2 separate regions of the Homo sapiens genome follow, and region 1 is linked to region 2. The links are contacts of gene promoters, found by promoter capture Hi-C in human tissues and cell types (Jung and others, 2019). All regions are on one chromosome and are shown on one strand. Each heading gives the region's core, a stretch centred on a gene start or on the middle of the fragment in contact. The rest is flanking DNA. Distances are from core to core; before and after follow the strand shown.

Evidence for each region. Contacts are between HindIII fragments. The study calls those that stand out against the background at their distance.
Region 1: a contact is called between a fragment that was not itself captured here and the fragment with the promoter of ANKAR in region 2, in 2 of the 25 tissues and cell types used here (IMR-90 fibroblasts and mesendoderm cells).

Annotation. Positions count from the first base shown.
Region 1 is chr2:189,470,248-189,474,771 of GRCh38, reverse strand. WDR75 (WD repeat domain 75) reads right to left here. Exons shown (of 21, transcript NM_032168.3): 18 at 3,894-3,953; 19 at 440-586; 20 at 1-55. Among named protein-coding and RNA genes, the nearest start is that of WDR75, 31 kb to the right of the region's middle. The HindIII fragment of the contact is 7,458 bases long and covers 1-4,524 here.
Region 2 is chr2:189,672,407-189,677,538 of GRCh38, reverse strand. It overlaps ANKAR (ankyrin and armadillo repeat containing), which reads right to left and starts at 2,869. Exons shown (of 23, transcript NM_001378068.1): 1 at 2,709-2,869; 2 at 448-1,083. The coding sequence starts at 1,048. LOC105373793 (a long non-coding RNA gene) reads left to right here and starts at 3,254. Exons shown (of 2, transcript XR_923692.3): 1 at 3,254-3,708; 2 at 4,146-4,419. RefSeq lists an enhancer at 2,484-2,743 and a silencer at 2,794-3,213. The HindIII fragment of the contact is 7,879 bases long and covers 1,321-5,132 here.

The DNA.
Region 1 (4,524 bases), core at 286-2,785, 200 kb after region 2:
ACATGGAGCACAGGAAAGCAGCAGATGGCAGGACATGGGCTGGAGTGTGAAGAAGCTGGAGTCAAACAGAAAACACGGTTGCAATTAAAAAGCTTATCCTCCACCGCAGTCTGTTCCTACAGTGTCCTCACGGAGTCCCTTTTATTGTAAATGCCAAGAGTGAAACATGAAAAGGCTTTCCCTATACAAAAGCCAAACCAAAGAAAAATACATTTCTACCTTCCTACATTTATGCCAACAACCACCCCTATCCCTACACCAGGTCCAGGACAAAACAATCCCAGATCACAAGGTTAAGTTACTCGGTTTGTTGTTAGTTATTTAGTTTGGGTATTAAAGTTGTACAGCATACAAATTACAGATTGACTGTGTCAAAACTCCAACTTCAGGTGCTTTAAGTGCATTTAATCTGTTTCACATGGTTTTCATAATTACTTACCTCACTAATTGCGGGTATGTTTTCTGTTAAGGGTAGTTGTACCAGCTCATTCTCTAAAGTTTCGTTTAGTTTTTCATCCTGCTGTTGCCTGTGTTTTCCCAATATGAAATAAAATGGGGTTGTGGGAAGACTTTCTTCTGCTAGCAGCTTTAAGGATTTAAGACAAAGAGAAATTATTTCAGAAAAAAGGAAGAACTGTGTTTGACTTAACAGTAAGTACTACAGAATCATAAAAAGTCTGGGATGAAAGGAATTTTACAAATTATCCAGTTAGTATGATCCTCTCATTTCACAGAGAAAGCAACTGAGGCCTAGCATCCCACTTATGAGAAGAGCTAACAGTGAACACTTAGATGACAGAATAATACATGCATTTACCACTGCTTCTTCACCAAATCCCACAAAAATGACAGCAAAAGGGTTTTCAAAGGGCACATACTCACAATGATAGAAAATGAGGGAAAAGGCCTTAACAGTAACATGTTGGAAACTGGAGAGCAGGCTGAAGGATGGTATTGAACTTAGTAGACCTGAGAAAGCACAATTCTAAGCTGGCTGTAGGGAAAGCCAAGAAGCATCCCAATTCATACTACAGAATCCTGCAAATGCTCAGGAGTTGGTAATAATAGTAACTCTGGATGTGGGGTGAAAATGGGACTAGACAAACCAGACGGGCTGGTGGAAAGTCTACTTAGAAAGCACCCCACAGCTCCTCCTCAGCCCCAGCAGAGGGCTCTACATCTTTAGGCTAGGTATGGATAGCGGTGGTGGTGGTGGTGGTATCTTCATATCTAGGCAGTTGTACTTCATGTAGGGGGTTCTCAGAACACTGACAGGTAGGTCTAAATCCTTTAGGCAGGAACGCATAGAATTTTTTATGGTTAATTTGACCAGCCTAAGTAAGACCTAAAGATACAGCTAACCTTGGAATAACAAGGGTTCGAATAACACGTCTATGTGGAGTTTCTTCTATTTCTGCCAGACCTGAGATGGCAAGATCAACTCCTTCTCTTCCTTAGCCTACTCTATGTGAAGATGAGGATGAAGACCTTTGTGATGATCTATTTCCACTTAATGAATAAATATATTTTTCTCTTTCTTATAATTTTTTTTTTTGAGATGGAGTCTTGTTCTGTCACCCAGGCTGGAGTGCAGTGGTGTGACCTAGGCTCACTGCAACCGCCATCTCCCAGGTTCCAGTGATTCTCCTGCCTCAGCCCCCGAGTAGGTGGGATTACAGGCATGCACCACCATGCTTGGCTAATTTTTGTATTTTTAGTAGAGATGGGGTTTTGCCATGTTGGCCAGGCTGGTCTCGAACTCCTGACCTCAAGTGATCTACCTGCCTTGGCCTTCCAAAATGTGGGATTACAGGCAAGAACCACCGTGCCCGGCCTCCTTATGATATTTCTTAACTTTTTTTTTTCCTCTAGCATACTTTATTGTAAGAATACAGTATATAATACATATAATACAAATAACTGTTATCAGTAAGGCTTCAGGTTAAGTTTTGGGAAGTCAAAAGTTATACATAGGTTTTCAATCTCTACATTGTTCAAGGGTCAATTGTAATGACATTTGAGACTGTCTCAATAAATTAGCTCAGATAGTGGAAGCCAAGGGATAAGTTCTGCACAGGCAGAGAACTTCCAAGTGGCTTTTTAACCCACTTTTAAATCCAAAGACAGCCAAGAATCATCAGACTCTGATGAAAACCTCTAGATGAAAGGCAGCAACCAAGACAAACCAAAAACAAAAAAAAATGTAATGGAAACAGACCATGAAAAAGAAAAAAAGATTTGATGATAAAGATGAGGAAATCTTCCAGAAAACAAACAAAAAATAGGCAAAACAATAAGAATAATAGAGAACCATTCTAGAAAGTCCAGCACTAAATAATAGGAGTTCTAGAAAAAGAATAGAGAAAGAAGTAATTAGCTCCTCCTTAGTTCTCTACTCAAAACTCTCCAAGGGGCCCTATATGTAACTCAGAGAAAAAGTCAGAATCTTTTCAATAAGGCCTACGTAGACTTCCCTGTTTAAAATTACAAGCTGCATCCCATGCATGCCATCTTTTCGTCTATTCTCTACCCCACCACAATTCTTACCACCTTCTCTACTCCATATTTTACTTAATGCATGTTGTTTACTGTCTCTATCTTCTGGTGGACTGTGAATACCGCAAGTTTAGAGACTTGACTACTTTTCTCACTACTGTATCCCAACTGTCTACAATGGTCCCTGGCGTACAGTAAATAATTAACAAAAAATTATTGAATTAATCCAATGAGTTTTAAAGGAAAATAAACAAGCCAAGTTACAGACAAAGGAACAAGAACAAGAATGGTATTGGTCTTCTAGTAATAATGGAAATTATAAAATAATAGGACAATAATGTCAAAGTTCTGCGAGAATGATTTTCAACCTACAACTCTATAATAATCAAGTGAAAGAGAATAAAAACATTTCCAAACATGCAAGGTCTTAAATTGACCTCCAATGCACTAAAAGAATGCTTCACCAAAACAGGGGAGTGACCAAAGAAAGAGAAAAACCACACCACTAATAGAGTAGAGGTCAAACAAATCCCCAGAATGATGGTGAATATAGATCCTAGGATGACTACTGTGTAGCAGGTTTCCAGAGCAATCAGTCCAGACTGAAGACAGTCAGAAGGCTCTTGGAAATAATCCTTTATGACTTGAAAGAATACCTAATGTATCTGAAAACACTGAGAGAATACTTACACAACTTGAGCAGAATTTGGGGTTGAATTACATGAGAATAGAAAACTAAGCAAATGAAAAAACAAGGCAATCATTAACTCCACAGAAAATAAAAACTTGGTCACAAAAGGAAAAACAATCTGCCTATTACTACATGGCTTGGCTATGAATTGTGTTAACACAGCTATGACAATGACTACTGAACTAACCAATTTAACATTTACCCATATGGGGAAAATTGGGGGACAAGTAGGGAAAGTGTGTGTTGTGTATATGCAGGGAGTGCTGATGTGAAAAACAGCTAAAAATTCAGCGTCAATAGATCAGAGTTAACAGATAATACCTAAATCTGAAAAACCTATAATTAGAAATATAAACATTTCTTAGAGATTTCTTAGAGATTCAGAGTTAAATAAAAACTTCAGCTAAAAGATTTGAGAGTGATTGTCTTTGTGGGTAATGGTAGTGGTGTTGGAGAAGTTTTTTCTGAAGAGCCTTGTAAAAATATTTGACTCTTTAAATCAGAATTATATATTACTGATATTATAAATTAAAATAATTTTAAAAGAGCACTAAAACTTTCAAGAGACACATATCAGTTTATAAGTATATGGCTTTTAATTCTATTTTAGGGCCAAGTGAAATATTTTTTTCATAGTTGACTTCTAAAAGGTAATTGTATCCTTTTAGGGAGGCAATACATCCTGCTATGAATGGCTAAAACATACCTGTTTGCTTGTTGGTGTGAGTTTTTCTTCTGGAGACTTTGTACTGAATGTCAATAAACTCTGAAAAGAGAGAATTAATGATGCAAAAGACAAACTGTAGAGTGCAAATCTAAACAAGGTGTTACAGGGTGTTAAAAAATGAGAAGGTCAAATTTTTCACTTTGATATATATATTTGACAACAGAAAAGGAATAAAAGATTTAAACCTATTTAATAACCACGATGAGAGTTACAAGATTATGTCTGAGAGATACTTAAGAAATGGTAATGAATAAAAAATATAACTGACAGACAAAACTCAAGCCACCATTTTAAAAATTGCAAATCAAACACTGAAAAAAAAAAGAAAAAGAAAAAAGAATCATGCAATTTAAAGTATTTTAGTTGTCTTCTGCTTTTTTGCTGTCACAGAGTTAATACAAGCAATACCTAAGGAACCTCAAAAGTGTGGGGTAAAACGGTAATACATTTACATTAATAATGCTGCTGTACTGAGCATATTAGACAATTTTTTGGGAAATAATCCTTTAATGAAGCTGTTTCACCTAGAAACAAACTCACACCAATAGTCATGGGCTATTAGTCTAAAATTCCATGTACAAAGTGATCGCCTTTTTTGAGGGAGGCAGTT
Region 2 (5,132 bases), core at 1,620-4,119:
ATTTTATGTTCTCCCTTATAAGTGGGAGCTAAGCTATGAGGACGCAAAGGCATAAGAATGATATAATGGACTTTGGGGATTCTAGAGGAAAGGTAGGAAGAAAATGAGGGATAAAAGACTACACATGGGGTACAGTGTACACTGCTCAGGTGATGGGTGCACCAAAATCTCAGAAATCACCACTAAAGAACTTAGCCATGTAACCAAAAACCACCTGTTCCCCCAAAAACTATCGAAATAAAATTTAAAAATTTTAAAAATGGCATTGAATAAAAATAATTAAGAAGTGGCCAGGTGCAGCGGCTCATGCCTGTAATCCTAGCACTTTGGGAGGCCTAGGTGGGTGAATGGCTTGAGCTCAGGGGTTCGTGACCACCCTGGGTGACGTAGTAAGACTCTGTTCCAAAAAAAAAAAAAAAAAATTTAAGAAGTGTTAAATTCTCTTACCTGCTGAACTAAACTCTGAAAAAATGTCTTTATTTGTTTGAGGTTTTCCATCAGGATCAATGTCCATGATGGCACGCCACAATTCAGAGAATCTAGCTCGTTTTTCTTTGGGCATATATATTCCATGCCATAGTGCTTTCAGCATGTAGTCAATATTGATCAGAATTTGCCCAATTCTGGTATCATAATAAGCTGGAGGTAATTGACAAGAAGAACTCTGATCATAATTAGCTTCTAAACTGATGGAAGGGATTTGATTTAGGCAATAAATTCCAATAGCCAACTCTCTTATCATTTGATGGACCTCTCTATAGTCTAAGAGGGCAGTAGGGTCCACGGGAGTCAGTAGGATTGCAGTGGAGAAGCCTACGTTATTCATTTGACTCATAATTCCACATGGGAGGTCTACTTGAGAGCGCACATCCTCTTTGGCAGACAACCAGCTAACTAGTGCAGTAGTTAGTAACTCTTGTATTTCACTCCGATCATATTTTTCAAAAAAAGCAGATGCATTTCTTTGTATTGCTAAATTTTCCAGGTAGGTGTCTTCATCCTGAACTTGCTCAAATCTAGGTAATCCTTTTTTGGGCAATCTTAACATTTCTAATTAAATCTAGTGTGTCCTTTTTGAAGCTTCTGCAATGAATAAGAAGGAAAAGATTATCAATAAAATCTGACATGCCAATGAAACTGGATTTGTCTAGAAATAAATCTGTACCTTTCACCTACATAAGATTAATTTTTCATGGTCAACCATTATAGTTTTCAAATTAAAAATAACTGCAGTATATGAAAACTGAAATTTGAATTAAAATAATTAAAATTATAAAACCTTTATCATTAACCATGTTCTGCTTTTCAAAGAATTCAAAAGACAAGAAGATGTATGTCAAAAAGAAACGTTAAGTTTATCTGTGAGAAGCTACTGTTACATACCTATTTTGTTGTTGGAGAGGCATTCTTTTGTATATGTTCGTGTTAGTCTGTTTGTGTTGCTATAAAGGAATACCTGAGACTGCATAATTTATAAAGAAAAGAGGTTTATTTGGCTCACAATTCTGCAGGCTGTACAAGCATGGCACCAGCATCTGCTCAGCTTCTTGTGAGACCAAGCTTACAATCATGGCGGAAGGGGAAGGGGAGCCAGTGTGTCACATGGTAAGAGACGGAACAATAGAGAGAAAGGGGAGGTGTCTACTCTTAAACAACCAGATCTTTCATGAGCTCAGAGGTAGAGTTCACTCTGCCAGGAAAGCACCAAGCCATTCATGAGGGATCCACCCCCATAATCCAAACACCTCGCACCAAGCCCTACCTCCAACATTGGGGAATCTATTTTAACATGAGATTTGGAGGGGATAAATATCCAAATCATATGGATATTTATTTTGTTTTCAGTTTTTTAAAGCAAGACTATACTGACCTGCATGAAAGAAAAGAAAAGGGTGGGGCGCAGTGGCTCATGCGTGTAATCCCAGCACTTTGGGAGGCCAAGTCGGGCAGATCAACTGATGTCAGGAGTTCGAGAACAGCCTGACAAACATGGAGAAACTCCGTCTCTACTAAAAATACAAAATTAGCCAAACGTGGTCGTACATGCCTGTAATCTCAGCTACTCGCGGGGCTTGAGACAGGAGGCTGAACCCAGGAGGCGGAGGTTGCGGTGGCCTGGGCAACAAGTGTGAAAAACACTGTTTCAAAAAAAGAAAAAAAAAAGAAAAAGAAAAGGAAAGAAGCATTTGCTTAACCTTCAATTTCTGTGCCAATGAATGCCTGTCTATTCCTGAAATAATAATAACCACAACTACTATTTATTGAGCCAGGTTCTTTACTATATAATGGTTTGATTTATTTCATCTGATTGGTCTCTATTATATAGTGGTTCTCAAAATTTAGCTTGTATCAAAATCACCTGGGGCTTGTTCAAATACAAATCGCTGAATCCCACCACTGAGTTTCTGATTCAATGAGCTGTAGTGGGGCCAGAAAATATGCGTTTTAGTAAAGTTACAGGAAATGCTGATAGTGCTGGTTTGGGCGCCACACCTGAGACCCCAGGTCAGTGAGTCAGACCTTGTTATGCCCACTTTATAGAGGCAAAAACGGAGACCAGGAGGTTGCAGGACAAGTCTGAGGTTTTACGCCTTTCAGAAACAGAACCCACGTCTGTCCAGTCAAGCCCGGGACCCACGTCCAAAAGCAGCTCGCGTCAGCCATGGGCACGGGAAAGGGGAAAAAACAAGGAAAGGGGAGGAACCTACTCTAGAATGGCTGTTTTCTTGTCCGGGAGAGGGACGCTGCGTCCGCGGCGTTCCCGTGGGGCTGAGAACAGTCGTCGCCGCCTCAGATGGCTTCTCGCGGGGCCTTGAATCCGCCCTCAGGGCCTCCGCAAGGGCGAGCGGGAGGCGCACCGGAAGGAACTGAGAGGAACTTTCAGGGCTTTTCGCCCCACCGTGGCGGCCCGGCCCTCCTCGCCTCGCCGGCCAACACTGCCGCCGCCCGGGCGCGGGTCGAAGCGGTTGGTCCTCCGGGCCCTGGGGTGGCTGGGCTGCTCCTCGGGCGGAGCCTGCGGGCGACTAGGCCTGGTGCGTCCCGCAGCAGCCGCAGCGCCCCCAGGCGGCGCCCGGCCCCTTGGCTGGCTCAGACCCCCCGCGTGCGCATCATCCCAAGCCCGCTTAGCGCTTAGTCCAGCGGCATGCCGTGGGCACTGTGCCGCCCTCACTATCTGCCTCTGCTAAAACACCGAAACAGAGTAGCAGAGGAGACAGCGCCGGGCGTTGAGGCAGTCCCGAGTTGGAATACCACCTCCATCATCATTCTTTCATTCAACAAGCATTTATGGAACACCTATTATGAGTCAGGCACCCAGCTACAAGCTGGAAACCCTAGAAAACAGGGCAGACACGAAACCCCAAGGAGCTTACAGTTGAACAGATCATCTCACAGCTATATTTAACAGTGTGCCAATATTAGATGGAATGACAGCACTCGAATGAAAGCTAACCTAGCCCAGGGCTAGGAAAGGCTGCCTAAGGAAGTGCCCTTTTCCCCTCCGAGCCTAGAAGATGGAAAAGAGCTACCCAAGCAAAGGACTGGACAAGTAGCTTTTCAGGAACAGGGAACAGCAGGAGAGAAAGAATTGAAGTGAGAACAAAGTTGAAATGGTTGAGAAACCGCAAAACCCTGCTTAGAGAACAAGAGAGATGTGGGCACAAACCGAGCTGCTGAGGTGCGCGATGGACAGATCATGCAGGCTGCTGAGTAATGATTTTGAATTTCATCCCAAAGGATTAGCCTACAGTAGTGGCAGTGGAGGTGGGGCTCAGGGACTGTGGACAGATTTGAAAAATAATGAGGTTGCCTGTTGGTGACAGATTGGGGATATGTTGAAAAAGAAGGTTGTGTCCAAGTCAGAACCACATTTCTGTCAGGAGCAACAGGATATCAGGGCAAGATTAAGAGTTCAGTTATGTACTAATTGACCTTGAAGTACCTGTGAGAGAAATTGAGATGTGAGATATGCTTTAGATAAACAGTTCTGGGCTAAGAATGGCAGTAGGGGTTAGATGTATAAATTTTGGCAGATTTATAGTAATTGAAGCCAGGAGTGGGGTTGAAATCACCAAGGGAGAGCGTGCAGAATGAGGAGTTGAGAACCAAGGATTAGAGACCTGAGAAATTTAACATTTAAACGTCAGGTAGAGAGAGTGAAGTCAGCAAAGAAGACAAAAAGAACAGCCAAGAAGGCAGGAGGAAAACCAAAATTGGTCACAGAAGCCAAAGAAGTGTGTGGAAAAAAAAAAAGGAATGGCCAACTTTATCGGATGCTGCTGCTCGGTCAGGGGAGATGAGAACAAACTTCCACTGAATGCAGCAGCTTGGAAGTTCTTGGTGACTGTTTGGGGCAGAATTTCTCTTCCAGTAACCATGTCATTATTTTAGCTACTATGGAAATAAATATTAATAAATTTATGAGGACTATTCCAGGGCTTTTTTTTTTACAAAGATTTGCATGTTTGCACTTAAGAAATATGAACCATATATGTACATTCTCCTACTTCAAGGATTGTTTCCCCCTGGGTAGCCAAATGGTTTGTTCCATGTGTCTCAAATCTTCGGAAAGAGATGCCTCATTTTTTAAAGGATCAACACAGAACTCCATCCCAGAGCTAATGGGATTGAATAGCAGAAGGTTGTAAATGCCCAGGCCCTCTTGGGGTTCACACACATGCATGTGTATCCTCTCTCTGTCTCTCTCAGTATTCTGGTGGAGCAGATGACCTGGAAATTCCTTATAAAAGTTTGACTGATTAATACATTTAAATCTCATAGAGTAGAGTAGCACCTGGAATATAGCATTATGTAAGTTATAGCTATTTTCAGTATTAAACTGTATTGGTGTTATAATATTCAATTCTAGGCCGTGGGGCAAACCTCTTAAGTTCATCTACTCCCAATATAAGCAATGTCAATTTAGTGCTCAGGCCCACACAGACACTTGAAGTTGTCTGCTTTCAGATTGAGGGATGAAAGCTATGTAGGCAGTATCTAAATTTTGGTTGAACATTGCATCTTCCAGGGAATAAATTCGGGGCATGTGAAAGCCTTTGCCAGGTTACTGACCTGTTTGTCCGGATCCTAAAATTTATTTGCTACTGTGATTAAAGAATCAAAGGGTGGCCAGA